Linked DNA regions of Homo sapiens: all the other regions are linked to region 3. Evidence: promoter capture Hi-C in 16 types of primary human blood cells and fetal thymus (Javierre and others, 2016). All regions are on one chromosome and are shown on one strand. Each heading gives the region's core, a stretch centred on a gene start or on the middle of the fragment in contact. The rest is flanking DNA. Distances are from core to core; before and after follow the strand shown. Region 1 holds the start of PYDC5 (pyrin domain containing 5). Region 2 overlaps IFI16 (interferon gamma inducible protein 16). Region 3 holds the start of OR10T2 (olfactory receptor family 10 subfamily T member 2).

Region 1 (3,967 bases), core at 1-2,500, 610 kb before region 3:
GTGTGGGGTATTTTCTTAACTCGCTTGGGTACAACAATATAAGCACAAGGCAAGCTCAGACCAAAGAAGAGGCAGACCACTCCTGGCTGGTTGGTAGTCAAAGATCTAGATAGCAGAAACTTACACAGGAGGCAGTCTTAAGCGGGAACAAGAGAAGTCAGATCTCCACCTCGCAGTGCACGCCTGAGTAGTCTTTCAGACAGTGAGAAGAAACAAGGAAGGAAAAGCTGATGGGGGCGCTGAGGGGTGGGGATAGCTATACCGATAGTGCCTTAGGCCATCTGGTTGCTCTCTTAATCTATTTACTTCCTGCTTAAATGGATTGTTTGAGCTTCCTTCAATCTGTTCCACATTGCTAAGGAGTGGGAGGATGTTCCTGGAAGCAGCAGTCATCTTGGTGCCAGTATGCATTTTCCAGTGGGACTGCAGCCTCCTACAATTCAATTTAAGCTCAGTTCCCAGAACACGTTTTCACAACAATGCCATTCCTTCCCCTCCAACCTCAAGGCTTCTCTCAGCCAGTCCTTCCTTGAAATTTTGTAGTTTCTGTATTGCAGTTTTGTATTCTACTTTTCCTGTTGCTCAAAGCTAATGCCATAAACTCCAGACAACTCTGTTGGCAGAAAGAGCTTCTGTAGTTCTAGGGATGACCTCTTTACTTTGGAGTGGAATAAAAGAGACTCAGTGTTGAGGCAGGAGAGGAGAGTGAATGCATATGGAAACCTGGGGAGTGATGTGAACCAGTCATGATATACTGTACAAGGCCAGAGTTGGCATCATTCATCTGTTTATTGCATGTCTCATGGAGAAAATATGAGTGAAAGAAGTTTCTGGTTCATGAAAACTCCTGTTCTCTGACCCTCCCTGTAATGGACATGCATACTTTCCCACTGTCTTAGTCCATTTAGTGCTGCTGTAATGGAATACTATAGACTGGGTAATTTATACAGAACAGAAATGTATTTCTCACAGTACTTGAGGTGGAAGTCCAAGGTCAAGCATCAGTATCTGGTGAGGCCTTCTTGCTGTGTCCTCACATGACAAACGGGGCGAATTCACCCCCTACATGCCCGTTAGAGTGGCATTAATCAGTCTATTTACGTGAGTGAAATTCTCATGATCTAAATACCTCCCATTTGGCCCAAGCTCCCAACACTGTTGCATTGGGTACTAAGTTTCAACATTATTTTTGAAGGGGGTAAAAACATTGATAGTTTCTACTTCTCCGGCTTTATCTCTGCTATCTTCATTCTTTATTTGCTTATTTTATCTAAAACTGTTCTCCAGAAAGCATTCTTTGAGGATCTTTACTAGATTGATAATTTCTTTACTCTGTTTAATTTCAGGACTTCACTTTGGCTGTCAAAATTTCCCTTGATATAATTTATCTCTAAAATTGAAGATGAGATTCTCTACTGTTGTCAGTAATGAACTCTCCACCCTAAACATCTGGTTTTGGGAATTTTTTTTCTTTTGAGACGGAGTCTTGCTCTGTTGTGATGGCACGATCTCGGCTCATTGCAACCTCTGCCTCCCAGGTTCAAGTGATTCTCCTGCTTCAGCCTCCTAAGTAGCCAGAATTACACGCATGCACCATCAAGCCTGGCTAATTTCTGTATTTTCAGTAAAGACAAGGTTTCACCATGCTGGCCAGGCTGGTCTCAAACTCCTGATCTCAAGTGACCCACCCACCTCGGCCTCCCAAAGTGCTGGGATTAGAGGCGTGAGTCACGATGCCCGGCTGGTTTTGGGAATTCTTACCCCAAATTACTAACATCTATAATTTACTCAGATTTACTTAGCAATAAGGGCAAAATTAACTGAAATTTAGATTTCTTAACCTTTTTTTTTTCTTTTGGAGATAAGGTCTTGCCATGTTGCCCAGGCTGATCTCAAACTCCAGAGCTCAAACAATCTACCTACCTCAGCCTCCCAAAGTGCTGGGATTACAGGCATAAGCCACCACATCCATCCTTAATATTTTGGCTGGAATTTGGGTATTAATATATTAAGAAGAGAGAAATAAAATTTACAAGTAATGGAGAAGTGGTGTTTGAATTTTATTTCCTTTTATGTTTTAGATTAAGGGTTGACAATCTTTGGTTCAAGGAAAGAAACTGCTGTTCACACAAATAAGTGCTTCTATGTGTTTGAATGTTTAAGGTATCAAGTCATGAGTGTCAGAAATGCAAAATAATACAGAATTGGCTGGGCGCGGTGGCTCACGCCTGTAATCCCAGCACTTTGGGAGGCTGAGGCGGGCGGATCACAAGGTCAGGAGATCGAGACCATCCTGGCTAACACAGTGAAACCCCGTCTCTACTAAAAATACAAAAAATTAGCTGGGCATGGTGGCGGGCGCCTATAGTCCCAGCTACTCGGGAGGCTGAGGCAGGAGAATGGTGTGAACCCAGGAGGCGGAGCTTGCAGCGAGCCGAGCTCATGCCACTGCACTCCAGCCTGGGCGACAAAGCGAGACCCCGTCTCAAAACATAATAATAATAATAATAATAATACAGAATTATGGACATACAAGATAGGAGAAGTTTATGGTGCAAATACCTATCGCCTTGGTCTTTTTGTTCCCTAACTCAGTGACAGGTGGCTAACTGCTCCTTAGGCTGATAGAGCCAAAACGTGATTCCAGCCTAAGAATCACAAAAGAGCAAAACAGAGGAGGGATTGCTTAGGTAACAGAGATCGAGCTCCTTTAGGAATTTGGAATATGGCAAGTTATTTCTTCTTAGCTTTACGGCAGTAATTTAAGTGTTATGTGATTTTGTAATTGCAGAATATTATGACATAGCCAGAATAAAAATACATCTATTGTCTAAATAGATAACTGGATTCACCAGTTAAATTATCGTGAAAAAATAACTAATAGCAGAAACATTAAAATAAACCATGCGATTTTCTATCAGCTTAGTCTGAAAGTTCACACAAATTCAATTACTTGAAGTTTCCCTGCAATACACCATGTTTTACTTCCTTCTTAGAATCTAGGGTATCTTGCACAGTGGAACCATAGGAAGTTGGATTACTCCCACCAGAGATGGAAGTTTCCAAATTTTCCACTTTTATTAAATATATGTTATATATTTGGCATAATGCCTTGGATTTTGAAAAGCCTTCTTAACCTTGCTGTCTTTTGAAATCATTCTACAAGTAGATAGATATGGTTTGATTATAATTTTGTTTTTTATCTATGCTATTTCTGGCTTGAACATCCCTCTTCAAGAATGTGCAGTGAGGACATTTGCTCTGTGCATTCTCAGGTAACTCTGGCTCTTGAGTAATCAAGCCATATGGATGAATAGAGCCTAGGAAGTAGAGATTCCCAGGGCTGAAGTCTTAGATGGGATGCCTAGACAGTTGATTCAACATATGTTTATTTAACAAATGTTTATTGAGGACCTACTACTCTAGGTGGTAGGAGTACAGCAATAAACAGCACACAAATGCTTGACCACAAGGCACTTCTATTTCAGCAGGCTGGCCATTAAAGAATAAACAAATAGCAACAGCATTTATACTATAATGTCATATATAATATAATGCTTATATATTACAAGCAGATAAATTCTATGAAGAAATACAAATGGTATGAGGTAATAGTAACGGTATCGTGCTATTTTGCAGCATGTGTTCATTGAAGGATGAGCTTAGAAAAAAACAAGCAGAAATCTGAACAGAGTGAAGGAGCAAGCTTTGCCAATATTCTGGTTGAAAAGAAATAAATGATTTGACAAAGAAAATAATTGCTAATGCTTCAATTATAACACTACTATATATCTGAGGGTTGGTGTTTTCGAAGCAAATAACACTAGTTTTTTTTTTCTTTCTTTTTTAATTTTTTTAAACAGAGAATCATTCCATACTCTCTGTATGATAAGCAGGCTGTTGGCATAAGAAAAAGCAGAGCTCCTGGATTCAGAAGACTTGAATTCAGTAATATGTACTGTCTTTT
Region 2 (4,323 bases), core at 1,588-4,087, 620 kb before region 3:
CAGCATCCCTTGGGCGGCGCTGAGCAGGAATGGAGCGGGAGGCGTCACCATGGGGCTTCAAGCCCCAGGATATGCAACAAAAATTATATGCTTATTTTCCACTTTCTTTTCCCTCAGAACTAAAAGTCTTTTAGCACAGGTACCACCCCTAGAATTTCCAGTACACCAGCACCAGCCTGAAAACCATGTTCTTATTAAAAGATGAAAAAAGATTAAAAAAAAAAACTCGAGCCTGGGAAGGACCCTATTTTATGTATTAACCACTGAGACCGCCGTCCGCACAGCTGAGAAAGAATGGACCCATCATATTTGAGTCAAGAAAACATCTTCTTCGTTAGAATTATGGGTTACTGTACTAAGATTAAGCCCTTCTAAGTTAAAGAAAGCTTCATTTTAATACATCTTTTATATATTTTTTTCTTTTGTTATTAGCTCCTTTGTTATAAATATAACTAAGTCTAACTCACCTTAGACCATTGTCTTTAATGCTTGTTTTCTCATACTTTGTGGAAATAAAAAAAGATTAACGACAGCTAGCCTTTTCACACAAATATTTATGTCCCGGCCCTCTAATTGACACAATTACCCGTAGCACTCATCATTGTGAGCACCTGCAGCCAAGGCATCGATTTTCTGCTCCTACAGCCTGGCAACCTTGTAGTAAATGGGACTACATCCTTTAAACTACTCAAGAGCAAAGTTAGACTTCCACAAAAAAGGTTTGTGCAGATCTAAAACCCTTCATCTATTTCACCAAAAGGGCTACCCCTTCTAACTGTCAGCCCTTATCAATGTAACTCTGTCCTTCTCTTTATCACCACCTCCACCTTAACTAACTCTAGACCTGCCCTTGGTCGCTTAGATGGCATGGGGATTGACATAAATGAAAAAGACCCCCTAGGTGTTTTTAAAACACGCATTATTCCCCCATCTTCCCCTTCTTCAGTAGCCTCGGTTCTAGATCCCACACCAGTTGCCCCTACATCTAATAATAAAACTAGGTTGTCTATTGTAAAAATAAGACATCTAAGACAGACCTTAGCCATTAAGACAAAATATCAAGATGCAAATGCCTGGCTGGAATGAATTAAATATTCCCTTCGCACTTTAAATAAAAATTATTATCACGCTTGTACGCATGGTAGCCCAGAGGGCCAGATTATCCCCTTTCCACTCGGACGGTCTCCTCATTGACCAGAAATGGACATATGGTGGCTCTCTTGCAAAATCCCACAGTTTAGGATAATCCATCATGCTGAGCTCTCTATCTGTTATTTCCTGAAACTCAATACCCCGGGGGTCCGCCCCCGAGGGCAAGCCTGCTTCCACCTCTGAATGCCAAGTTTACTTTGTGCCTCTCACGGCAAGAGTAAAATTTGGTGTTCCTTAGAAGCATAAAAGGATGCAAGGAGCTCAAGCCTTTCCAAGAGCTTGCCCATCAGTCCACGCTTAGCCATCCCCAAGCAAATGTATGGTGATATTGTAGAGGACTTTTACTAGACACTCTGCCAAATAATTGGAGCAGTACTTATGCTCTAATCCAACTGGCTATCCCCTGCACCCTGGCATTTCACCAACCTAAAAAAAAAAAGGTAAAAACAAGACACTGCAGGCCAAAGGAAACTCCTCATGAGTCCTTTAAACGTTAGGTTTACATAAATGCTATTAAGGTCCTATGAGAAGTGCCAAATAAGTTTAAAGCACAAAATCAAATAGCTGCAGAGTTTAAATCCATGTTGCTCTGTTAAGTAACTATAAATTTTTTTTAAGTAGACTAAATAAACTATATCTACTATAATCAGCAACGATTCATAAATTACACTGAGGACGCCATCAAAGAGAAAGCTAAGCAATTAGGACCTACCAGCCAGATGGTCTAGAAAAATAAAATAGCTTTAAATATAATATTAGCAAAAAAAGAAGTTTGTGTCATAATTAAAACTCAATGTTATACCTTTATTCCTAATACTGCCCCTGATAGAACTATAACAAAAGTGCTACAAGGATTAACAGCCCTATCCGATAAACTTGCCAACAATTCTAAAATAAATAACTCTTTTTCTAAAATAATAAAACATTGGTTCAGCGGATAAAAAAAAAATTTAACTTCAATTCTCACCTCGTTTGCTCTTGTTATTGGTGTACTTATTCTTGTAGGCTGTTATATTATTCCCTGCCTTTGAAATTTTATACAAAAACTTATCTCTGCCACTCTTGCAGAGTTAACTCCTAATTCTCCTCCACCCTATTCTGAAAAATTACTTCTCTTAAAAGGACAAAAAAAAATTAAGTCAAAACATATTAAACAAGTTTAAAGAAGAATTATGAAATGAGGGGAAATTGTAAAAAGTAGAGGTTCCTCTTCAAAAACTTTCCTCCCCATCTAATTAGAAATAAATAGTAACTTCTCTTAAAAGCAAAATTTATTCAAAGACCTGTACAAACATTCTTAAATATCTGCTAGCCATAATAAAAAATCAATATACTTTATGTTCTTAGCTCCCACAATTTAGCCTAAATATTTGCCCTAACATGCTTATACTGATCCAAGCAAGCATTAGGTCATAGCCTGTTCCTCTTCCTTATTTAAAGGTGTTTTTACCTTTCTCAATATTCCACAAGTTACTTCCTCCTTCCTTTGTTCTCCTATGCCTTTGCCTCTTTTAAAAAGTTCTAAGTGCTAGCCAGTCGGGACAAATACAGAAGGTGAGGTCCCGTCCCAGCCAATGGAAACCGAACGCAGCAGGAGGGTGGCCGCGTCAGATTATAAATGAGCCTGTCTCCTTTGTTCCGTATACTCTTGTGGCAAAACTGCTGGCGAGTGTACCCTTTCTACAAAAAGTATAAAAATGGCCTTGCTGAAAAAATTAAATTGATATTCAAATGCTATTTATTTATGGCACCAGGGAACAAGCATTGCACATACAAATAATCCCATCAAAAAGTGGGCTAAGGGCCGGGCACGGTGGCTCACGCCTGTAATCCCAGCACTTTGGGAGGCCGAGGCGGGCGGATCACGAGGTCAGGAAATCGAGACCAACCTGGCTAACACGGTGAAACCCCGTCTCTACTAAAAATACAAAAAATTTAGCCGGGGGCGGTGGCGGGCGCCTGTAGTCCCAGCTACTCTGGAGGCTGAGGCAGGAGAATGGCGTGAACCCGGGAGGCGGAGCTTGCAGTAAGCCGAGATAGCGCCACTGCACTCCCGCCTGGGCAAAAGAGCAAGACTCTGTCTCAAAAAAAAAAAAAAAAAAAAAAAAAAAAAAAAAAAAAAAAAAGGGCTAAGGGCTAAGGACATGAATAGACAATTCTCAAAAGAAGATATGTAAATGGCCAACAAGCATAAGGAAAAACGCTCAACATCACTAATGATCAGGGAAATGCAAATCAAAACCACAAAATGATGCCACATTACTCGTGCAAGAATGGCCATAATCAAAAAATTTTAAAAAACAGACGCTGGCATCGATGTGGTGAAAAGGAACACTTCTACACCGCTGGTGGGAATGTAAACTAGTAGAACTACTATAGTAAACAGTGTATAGATTCCTTAAAGAACTAAAAAGCAGATCTACCATTTGATCCAGCAATCCCACTACTGGGTATCTACCCAGAGGAAAAGAAGTCAGTATACAAAAAAAGATCATTGCACATGCATGTTTACAGCAGCACAATTCACAACTGCAAAAATATGGAACCAGCCCAGATGCCCATCAGTAAACAAATGGATAAAGAAATGGGGTATGTATACACCGTGGAATACTATTACTCATCCATAAAAAGGAACAAAATAACGGCATTCACAGCAACCCGGATGGAATTGGAGACCATTATTCTAAGTGAAGTAACTCAGGAGAGGAAAACCAAACATTGTATGTTCTCACTCATAAGTGGGAGGTAAGCTATGAGGACACAAAGGCATAAGAATGATACAATGGACTTTGGGGACTCAGGGGAAAGAGTGGGAGGGGGGTGAGGGATAAAATGCTACATACACACTGGGTACAGTGTACGCTGCTTGGACGATGGGTGCATCAAAAAGTCAGAAATCACCACTAAAGAACTTATTCCTATAACGAAGCACCACCTGTTTCCCAAAAACCTACTGAAATAAAAAATAATTTACAACATTCAAAATGGCAACAGCGTAAAATCATGTACTGTAAGGAAACTTAACACGTGAATATTTGAATTCAAATTAACAAATTGGAGAGCTTCCTCTGTATAAAACTTTGTCAGTGGGACATAATTTTGATCACTGCAAATAATTTTAAGTTTCAAATTAGGTATTTTTATGGACTAAATACACACATATGTGTATTG
Region 3 (4,325 bases), core at 1,025-3,524:
TCCTCTTGACCTTCCTTGCCTTTGAGTGTTTTCATCAATCATATCGTTGATTTGCCTACTTTCCTACCCCTTTTTCCTTTTTTTCTTATCTCCCTAATATTAAGATTAAAGAGAATAAAGCTCATATTGTAAAATTTGATAATTCAAAAACTTGGATAATTAAAATTGGATTATTCCAGAAAAGTCAGAAATGTTCAAATAAGTTTTACTTGAACAAGCAGTGTGGAACTATGCTTTCATCCCTTGGAAAAAGTATATGAGCAGATCATCTTCTCACAAGGTAAAGAATGGGTGCCATAAAATTTGGTAAGTAGAAAGTGGATTTGAAGTTAGAAGACTTGAATTCTGATACTGGATCTACCACTTGAGCATATTATTTAATTTTTGACATTCTAATCAAGTCAAAATATTTGAGCACATGATAAATCACAAACTATGCTATATTCTAGGGACTCATTTTTTAATTAAAAAAAGTTATTCCTGCATGTGAGAAGCTTATAATCTATAAAGAGTGCCAAATATATAAAGAGGTATGTTCAATGCAACATGTTAAATGCAAGGATGAGGATGTTCATGGGTTACTCTGCCCAGGAGAGGGCACTTAGTACACTTGCCTTACCCGTGAGATAGCGACAGACACTTTTGCTATCTACCAGGATGTTAGAGTCAAAATGAAGTAGCTTACATGAAAGCATCTTATTTTCCGCAAGGTCTGAAACAAAGGAAAAAGCTGTTGTAGCAGGTGTGTGGAACTACCTAAGCAAATAAACCACAACAGAGATGATGAACAATGAACAAACTCAAGTGTGTCATGTCAAACAACTCCTAACATCTTATAGCCATTAAAGTAGCCAACAAGTTGGGAGATGTTGAGTTGTGCAAATATTACATCTGGTTTCTCCTGAATCTCTGAAGCTGATTCTGAAAGTAAAAATGATTAGGGCTCTGGGAGGAGGAATAACCTAGACTATAAAATAATGGGAAGTTCCTGAGATAGGCTCTTCTCTTTCCATTTAGCACTTTCTGGCTATTTTATTTGCAAGAGATTCAAGGTGTGTTCACGTTATTTCCTCTCCTTTCTTCAATAGAGAGAAGACTTAACCTAAGTCTTCCTGCTCCACCCCTATCCCTAGTGATCATCAATCTATTTTGTTTCATAGACAGATACATCATAACCTTGTGACCCAGGTTTTACACTTGGGTCCCTTCACAGTTCCAGAAACATACAGAACAAATGTCATAGAATCATGAAAGAGAATTCAAAGGCTATAGACTCCTTAGATAAAAAAGGGCAGATTTATTAAAGAACCCTGATTTAATCATCCCACAATGTATACATGTATCCAAACATCACATAATACCCCATAAATAGGTATAATTATTAGTTGCTAATAAAAAATAAATTAAAAAGAAAATAATTTTTAATGTAAAAGTAACAGTTCTTTCTTTAACTGTGCATATTTAAATTTTTGCTCAATTTTAAAAAAAGAATCTCAAGGATAAGAACACTTGAGTCAAATGCAGGGAAACTCTGTCCTGATTTAAGGATCCAGGCTCTTCTAGTGTTCAAATATCAAACCAGGATATTTGCCTCTCAACTCCTTAACTGCATAAGCAGCTGACACATAGATTGGAGTTACTATGTGTTAAGTGCTGTTTCAAGTACTTTACTGATACCATCTAAGTTCTTACAACAATCCTATATAATATGTTCTATTATTATTTATGTCTTACAAATGACAAAAATTGTCACACTGAAGTTCATAGCTCTAAGTGGCAAAGGCAAGTTTCAAACTCTAGCATTCTTGTTCCTGAGTTCATGCTCTGAGGCACAGTGTTTTAATGCCTTTACAATAATGCTAATTAAATGGATTGTGATATTAGGAAAAGAAACCAAATTACTAGGATAGAATATACATCCAAGGACCAAATACATACAGTACAAGAAAAATAATTTAAATTTTCTATTCCATATTAAAGGTAATGTTCTTCTTAAACTGAGAGAATTTTTTCACTTTGTCAAATAGTTGGATCCTTTTAACTTTGGGGTATTTATATACTGTAGATAATCATTTCTCTGTTACTTCAGATTAATAATTTTTTGGAAAAATCATTAAAGAGGCATCTATATCTAGATAGACTAAGAGAAAGAGATGTTAACATTATGAATCTGACAATATACTTAAAGTGAAGGCGTTGGGAAAATGTTCGTATTACAAAGATAGTTATCATTTTGTCTCTTTCAAACACATTCACAGAAAGAAGTTCTTCAGATGCGAGGTTTCAACAAAACCACTGTGGTTACACAGTTCATCCTGGTGGGTTTCTCCAGCCTGGGGGAGCTCCAGCTGCTGCTTTTTGTCATCTTTCTTCTCCTATACTTGACAATCCTGGTGGCCAATGTGACCATCATGGCCGTTATTCGCTTCAGCTGGACTCTCCACACTCCCATGTATGGCTTTCTATTCATCCTTTCATTTTCTGAGTCCTGCTACACTTTTGTCATCATCCCTCAGCTGCTGGTCCACCTGCTCTCAGACACCAAGACCATCTCCTTCATGGCCTGTGCCACCCAGCTGTTCTTTTTCCTTGGCTTTGCTTGCACCAACTGCCTCCTCATTGCTGTGATGGGATATGATCGCTATGTAGCAATTTGTCACCCTCTGAGGTACACACTCATCATAAACAAAAGGCTGGGGTTGGAGTTGATTTCTCTCTCAGGAGCCACAGGTTTCTTTATTGCTTTGGTGGCCACCAACCTCATTTGTGACATGCGTTTTTGTGGCCCCAACAGGGTTAACCACTATTTCTGTGACATGGCACCTGTTATCAAGTTAGCCTGCACTGACACCCATGTGAAAGAGCTGGCTTTATTTAGCCTCAGCATCCTGGTAATTATGGTGCCTTTTCTGTTAATTCTCATATCCTATGGCTTCATAGTTAACACCATCCTGAAGATCCCCTCAGCTGAGGGCAAGAAGGCCTTTGTCACCTGTGCCTCACATCTCACTGTGGTCTTTGTCCACTATGGCTGTGCCTCTATCATCTATCTGCGGCCCAAGTCCAAGTCTGCCTCAGACAAGGATCAGTTGGTGGCAGTGACCTACACAGTGGTTACTCCCTTACTTAATCCTCTTGTCTACAGTCTGAGGAACAAAGAGGTAAAAACTGCATTGAAAAGAGTTCTTGGAATGCCTGTGGCAACCAAGATGAGCTAACAAAAAATAATAATAAAATTAACTAGGATAGTCACAGAAGAAATCAAAGGCATAAAATTTTCTGACCTTTAATGCATGTCTCAGACAGTGTTTCCAAGGATTAAGACTACTCTTGCCTTTTTATTTTCTCCTATTCCAAAAAGAAAAAAAATGCAAGTCAATCTACACTCTATATTGTCCGATGTCTAGTTAAAAAAAAAGAATTCACACTTGGCAAAAAGAGAAAAGCATGAGAGTTTTTCAAGGAAAGACACAACCAAAACAAATATAAGGACAAGAATTGCTTTTCCAGTTGGAGAGACAGAACAGAGTCTGAAGTGGCTGGAAGCATTTTTATCCGGGACACAGGCATTCATCTAGTAATACATTCATCTGTGTACCAAGTCCCATTCAAAGAGGAAAAATTAAAATGAACAAATGTATAGTTTATGGTGGTTGGGACTGGTTAGGTGAAAAGATGAACACTGAAAAAAATATGATAATGCAAGATAATCAGATCAGTTAAAAGAATATAAATAAAAGTTATGAGAATCAAAGGAATGAGTATTTATTCCATCTGAAAGAGAAAAAGATTTAGAATAAGTGGGATGAAAAGAAGGGAGAGAAAATTTAAACTGGGCCTTAAATGGAGAACAAGATATTAATACTAAGAAACTGGGTTTTACAGTGACAAAAATGTTAGTCGATATTATCAGAATTGTTGATAATTCTAGATTTTTATTATGTTAATCATAAGTTAAACATTATTTTTATTTATAGTTCTTGTTTTGTTTTCACTTAGCTATATGTTTAAGTCTTTCAGATCATGTAATTTTATTTAATAATAGACTAAAAATAAACAATAATGACATCCTCATGCTTGATGATCAAATAGAACACAGTGCTCTGAAGAGGCAAAAATGGCCATAATCTCTATGATGATCATAGTGTAATATTTATAAGAACCTAACATTTTATTGATTACAATAATATAATTTGAATTATAAACACTGATCAGGATTGATTTTAAATCTAAACTATCATTTTCAAGCTACATAGTTTAAGAAATGTTATTTAAAATATTAAAACCGATAAGCCTTGAATTTTTTCATCTGGACAACTAAGATT

What was found. The method cuts DNA at HindIII sites, captures the fragments that hold promoters and counts their contacts. A CHiCAGO score of 5 or more calls a contact.
Region 1: a fragment that was not itself captured here is called in contact with the fragment with the promoter of OR10T2 in region 3 in 3 of 17 cell types (fetal thymus, total B cells and naive B cells); the score reaches 16.4 in fetal thymus.
Region 2: a fragment that was not itself captured here is called in contact with the fragment with the promoter of OR10T2 in region 3 in 1 of 17 cell types (fetal thymus); the score reaches 8.5 in fetal thymus.

Annotation. Positions count from the first base shown.
Region 1 is chr1:159,002,199-159,006,165 of GRCh38, reverse strand. It overlaps PYDC5 (pyrin domain containing 5), which reads left to right and starts at 3,415. Exons shown (of 1, transcript NM_001320010.2): 1 at 3,415-3,967. It also overlaps a transcript of IFI16 not described here. RefSeq lists enhancers at 1-253, 254-779. The HindIII fragment of the contact is 4,916 bases long and covers 1-3,708 here.
Region 2 is chr1:159,020,895-159,025,217 of GRCh38, reverse strand. All of the region lies in intron 6 of IFI16 (interferon gamma inducible protein 16), which reads right to left. Among named protein-coding and RNA genes, the nearest start is that of IFI16, 13 kb to the right of the region's middle. The HindIII fragment of the contact is 4,898 bases long and covers 389-4,323 here.
Region 3 is chr1:158,397,415-158,401,739 of GRCh38, reverse strand. It overlaps OR10T2 (olfactory receptor family 10 subfamily T member 2), which reads left to right and starts at 2,274. Exons shown (of 1, transcript NM_001004475.1): 1 at 2,274-3,218. The coding sequence starts at 2,274. The coding sequence ends at 3,218. The HindIII fragment of the contact is 4,820 bases long and covers 497-4,325 here.